Linked DNA regions of Homo sapiens: region 1 is linked to region 2. Evidence: promoter capture Hi-C in 16 types of primary human blood cells and fetal thymus (Javierre and others, 2016). All regions are on one chromosome and are shown on one strand. Each heading gives the region's core, a stretch centred on a gene start or on the middle of the fragment in contact. The rest is flanking DNA. Distances are from core to core; before and after follow the strand shown. Region 1 holds the start of DYRK3 (dual specificity tyrosine phosphorylation regulated kinase 3). Region 2 overlaps CR1 (complement C3b/C4b receptor 1 (Knops blood group)).

Region 1 (2,700 bases), core at 93-2,592, 860 kb after region 2:
CCACTGTAAGGGAACACAAAAGACGGAGAGGATTTATTTAATCCACAAGATGGCCCTGAATAATGTATTTCATCTGCTACCAAGAACACGGATTTCCCAGTTACACACATCAGCATTTCATTGTATCATTTTACATGATACACTATGAATATAACAATGATGATGTTGCAGAGGAATAATTTTTTAACGTCTTTTAAAATATCCTGGAATATTCTGGTCACCTTAAAAACTGTTTTGTGAAATTCATTCTAGAGTTTTCTTTATAGATGTGTTATAAAAATATAAAGGGAAAAAAACCGCTACAAATATTTTTGGAATGCTCTTTTTAAAAACATGCTCACATTCTGATAGAATTATTTATATTTTTAACAGGGAATGGCTTCACCAACAGAAACCAAATATTCTGGATGTGACTGACCCTTTGCCATAAGCCTGATAAAACAAACCAGGATAGGCGTCCACATATATAAAGAAAAAGAAAACGTGCAAAATTGCCTAGTGACTAACAGCCAGAGGAAATTAACAAGAGTCTGCATGCAAATAAAGCGGGGAGCAAGGGTCTCTTCTCTCCATTTAGGTGTAAAATACAACGCAAGGTGGGGAATCTCTCAAAATAGGATCCGGAGAAAGCCGTACCCAGCATAGCCCATAACCTGTACATTCGAAGCTAGACCGCACCCCTCACAGCAAACCCCAAGAGTTCAGCCGTTGGTTATCCGCTCTAAGCAACAGGGCTTCTTTCCAAGGTATTGCTCCCGGGCTCCCCCCCTTTAATAAAAAGCCCCACAAAAAGTCCTAGATTTTCGTAATCCCTTAACATATACCCCGATCTAGGGTTTCAGAGGGAATCCAGGGGTGGAAATTCTTCTTGCTCTAACTCCGCTCTAGCCCCGTCCCCCGCGCCCGGTGAGACAGGGATGGGGGGAGGGGGCCCTGATAGAGAGGAGGTGGGGGCGGTCCCGGGGAGGCAGTCAGACCCCTGCCCTCGTCCCTCCTACTGAGGGCTCACTCTACCTCCTCCCCACCCCCAAGCTTCGCTTGCCAGCGCCAGCCGCTCCCTGTGGCGCCTCCAGCCCGTTACCCCGTGGCGCCGTTACCTCCGCTGCTGGGGCGGGAGCCCGGCCCCAGGCGGCCCCGCATCCTTCCGCCCAGGCCCACGAGCTGTGCCTCCCATCTCCTAGCTCGGGACCCCGCGCGGGGAGAGGCGCCAGTTGGGGGTCCGGTCGGCCACGCCACCTACGCCGGGACGGCTGCCTCCGCGGCGCGACGCTCCCACGGGTACTCTCGACCAGACACTGCAGCTCAGCGCACTTTCGCTCCCGACTGGCCCCGGCTGGGAAGTGGGGAGACGCAGCTCCAGGGGCGGGAGGGGGAGCGGTCTGGTCGCCTAGCAACCGCGGCACGCCCCCGGGAAACGCCTCGGCGCAGCTACGGGCTGACGCACAGGGGCGGGGCCCGTGGCCGGTAAAGGCCACGCGGCGCTCCTAGCGGGTGCTAGTACTGGCGCGGGAGGCGGGAGGTTGGAGGCGAGGAGCTCGCGGCCTAGGCTGTTTGGGTCCCTGGCGCGAGCTGTAGACGGAGAGAGGGGTCCGGAGAAGGAGGGGTGAAAGTAGCAGTTAGCCCGCGATCTCAGAAGGGCTGCCCGCCCCTCACGGTCCCTTAATAGCACGTTGCGTCCTGGAAGTTCTAAAACGTCCCGCTTCAATATGAATTTTAAATTAGTGAAAACATATGTGTATTGTTTTAGGCTTTCCCACCGCGGGGACGGCCCTCCGGGGGTTGGTGAGTTACATAAGAAAGCAATAATAATAAACCCATTTATTGACACGATGCTTCCATTTATGAACATTTGATCTCAGTAACGGAGGTACCCGACGACTTTCGTCTTTTACAGACTTAGCTGGGATGCAGAATAGAAGCTGGGCCTTTGTCTGACTACCCTGCAACAGTCAGCCACAGACGGGAAGGCAGCGCAGGAAACTGAGGCCAAAGGAGCCGCGCTTCCTCATGAGCATGAAGCGGCAAAGCCTGAACTAGAAGCTTCTAACGCCTAACCGTCCTCTTGCCGCACCAGGACCTACCTCTGCAAGGCCCTTCCTGACTTTTTCCTTAGAATGTGTGTATATGTGTCTTTTTCCTTTTCTGATGCTAAGACACCTCAGAAACACCAATGTTAAGCAGATTTCCATCGTTGGAGGTTAAAACACCCGAATACAAGTGTTTTCTTGAGTGTGGCATCTGGTCAGATGTTTTATGGGTTGGTTTGTTTTTAAAAAAAAAAAATTTCCTGTTAGATGGGTGGTAAGAACCAGTCAGAGTTTGTAAACCCACCAAGCACGAGGCGGTCGGACCGTCCAGATTCTGGAGTCCAGAAGACACCAAACGTTCTCAGAATGCCGAACGCGGGCGCCACCTGGTGGGACTAGAACGCTTATTGTCCCAAATCAGCATAGCACACAGTTCCCATAAATCTTAAAAATTCCCATCCAAGGCTCATTTCCGTGTGACTAAAAGTCATATTCTCTGTTCTCGTGACTCCAAGTAAAAATGTCCCTAAAGAGCCAAAGTATCTTCACTGTATAAACTAATAATCTATTGGTTTGGGGAATTTTATTTTTTGTGATCAATGTTACTTTAGCCTTTCTATGATATACATATAAATAAAAAAGTTTTCTTCCATGATGATTTTTTAAAGTTTAT
Region 2 (2,700 bases), core at 168-2,667:
TATTACATACAATGATTGATGAGTATTTGAAGTGTACAATTCGATTACTTATAACATATGTATGCGTTGTGAAACCATCACCAAAATGAAGACAATAAACGTTTCCATCATACATCCCACCCACACAGAGTTCCCTCATGCCCTTCTGTAATCCATCCAAACATCCACTTCCTTCTCTAGGCAACCTTCAATGTGTTTTCTCTTACTACAGATTGATCTGACTTTCTAAAATTTCATATAACCCGAATCACTTCGTTTATATCCTATCATATAAAGGAAATAACTCAGGTGGTTTTCTCTTACTACAGATTGATTTGACTTTCTAAAATTTCATATAACCTAAATCACTTCATTTATATCCTATTGTATAAAGGAAATCACTCAGGTTTTTTTTTATGGTTTAGCCTTCACACAGCATAATTAGAGATCCATCTAGGTTGCTGCATGTATACAAATTGTTTCCTTTAGTTGCTGGGTAATATTCAATTGCATAAATATATCTTAATTTAGTTTATCCATTTACTTGTTGAGGGACATTTGGATTGTTTCCACGTGTTGGCTATTACAAACAAAACTGCTATGAAAATTCATGTACAAGTCTTTGTGTGGACATATGATTTCATTTCTCTTGGGTAAAAACCTAAGAGTAAAATGTTGAGTGTGTGTCTAAGGTTTTAAGAATCTGTTGAACTATTTTCTAAAGTTAATGTTATAATTTTACCTGCCAAATAGCAGTATATTATAATTCCAGTTACTCCACCTTATCGCCAACACTTGGCTCGGTCAATCTTTTTCATTTTAGTCATTCTAGTGGGTATGTATTGTTATCTCATTTCGGGTTTTGTCTTGTATGACTCAGCCCACTTTCACATTCTCCTGGTTCAGATATTCCATTCAAAGCAAGTTGATGTATTCTGTGCTATATGCACAATTAACACATCATCACTTTCATGTCTGTTGCAATATGAGCTGTCAACCCAAAGAACACTCTGCTTTCCATTCTGCATACTTACCCTTTAAGGAATAGATTTGCACTTGCTTTGCTTAGGCACCTCTATCAGTTTAAAAAAAGAGCATGCCCTTTCAAATATATAAATTTATAAATTATATATGTACACGAACATAAATTATATGCCTCAATATAAATTTTTGAAATGTAACACAGATAAAATAAATATTTTAAATGCTTTGTTAATCATCATGACTTAGCACAATCATTAGCTAACATCTAACGGGACAAAAAACAGTCACATTGAGTCTCTCTGTTCACAATAGTGAATGTAAAGCTTATTTCGACAGTCTTCATGATACTTTCTAGGTTTTTTGGTTTCATCGAGTTGTGATCAGTTGTGATTAGACTGACAGCATTTCTTCTACTTAATGCCTCTGACAAAAAATGTGTATACATGTGTCTTTGCGGAGAGGGTGAGAGGGATTGTCAACTCTACCATTTTCTTGTTTTCTGGAGTTGGTTTTATTACTGGGATCTTCACCCAGCATTTCTGTGTAGGACACTTTTGATGTTACCTGTCCAAATGTGAAGCTTATTTTAGATTAAAATAGATAATATAAATCACACATCCACTCATCTGAGCATATGTAAACCAAAATACACCACAAAGCACAGAAAGCAAATTGGAACTTCCCTTCTATCTTGCACCTTTACCTAGCAGGGATAACCAAACCAGATCCTATATGAGGACCACGTGAGGGCGCCAGAGTCCACCCTATATTAAACACTGCCTGGTAAAGCTTAATTCGTGTACTATTTTATGGCTCAGAATGTGGTCTATCCCCATGAATGTAAGCGGGAGAATATGTGCTCTGCTGTTGTGGATGAAGTCATCTATATATGTCAATTATACCCAAGTGGATTGATGGTGCTGTTGAATTCAAGTATGTCCTTACGGATTTTCTGCCTGCTGAATCTGCCCATTTCTGATAAGGAGACTTCAGCACCTTTTCTGATATCAGAAAGATATCATAGAAGTCTCCAACTATGATAGTAAATCCATCTATTTCTCCTTGCAGTTCTATGGGTTTTGCCTCACGTATTTTGTCTCTCCATCAGGTGCATACATATGGGATATTGTTACGTCTTCTTGGATAATTGGCCCCTTTATCATTATATGATGCCCCTCTTTATCCCTAATAATTTTTCTTGGTCTGAAGTCTGCTGTGTTTGAAATTAACACAGCTATTCCTGCTTTCTGTGACTAGCATTAGCATGGTATATCTTTATCCATTTACTTTTCATATATATTGTCTATATTTAAAACGGTCTTGTTGTACACAGTATATAGTTGGGTCTTGTTTCTTGATCCACTCTGATGATCTGTTTCAAATGGTGCATTTCGATCATTGACACTCAAAATGATTGTTGATATAGTTGCTTTAGTTTTGTTACTGGTTTTTATTTGTTGCTTTTTTTCTCTTGTTCTCTGTTTCTATTTTTTGTCTTCCATTCTTTTCCTGCCCTTTATTGTTTTTTGTTTTGTTTGTTTGTTTCTTTTTTTTTTTTTTTTGATTTGGAGTTGCGCTCTGTCACCCAGGCTGGAGTGCAATGGCACGATCTCGACTCACTGCAACCTCCGCCTCCCAGGTTCAAGCGATTCTCATGCCTCAGCCTCCCGAGTAGCTGGGACTACAGGCACCCACCATCATGCCCTGGTAATTTTTGTGTTTTTGTAGAGACAGGGT

The links. Contacts are between HindIII fragments. The CHiCAGO score rates a contact against its expected background, and 5 or more counts as called.
Region 1: the fragment with the promoter of DYRK3 here is called in contact with a fragment that was not itself captured in region 2 in 1 of 17 cell types (endothelial precursors); the score reaches 5.2 in endothelial precursors.

The regions. Positions count from the first base shown.
Region 1 is chr1:206,634,178-206,636,877 of GRCh38, reverse strand. DYRK3 (dual specificity tyrosine phosphorylation regulated kinase 3) reads right to left here and starts at 1,342. Exons shown (of 3, transcript NM_003582.4): 1 at 1,098-1,342. The coding sequence starts at 1,174. It overlaps DYRK3-AS1 (DYRK3 antisense RNA 1), which reads left to right and starts at 1,210. Exons shown (of 2, transcript NR_183645.1): 1 at 1,210-1,278; 2 at 1,895-2,682. RefSeq lists silencers at 903-1,012, 1,063-1,482. The HindIII fragment of the contact is 1,008 bases long and covers 1,035-2,042 here.
Region 2 is chr1:207,498,703-207,501,402 of GRCh38, reverse strand. All of the region lies in intron 1 of CR1 (complement C3b/C4b receptor 1 (Knops blood group)), which reads right to left. Among named protein-coding and RNA genes, the nearest start is that of CR1, 3.9 kb to the right of the region's middle. RefSeq lists an enhancer at 1,784-1,843. The HindIII fragment of the contact is 257 bases long and covers 1,289-1,545 here.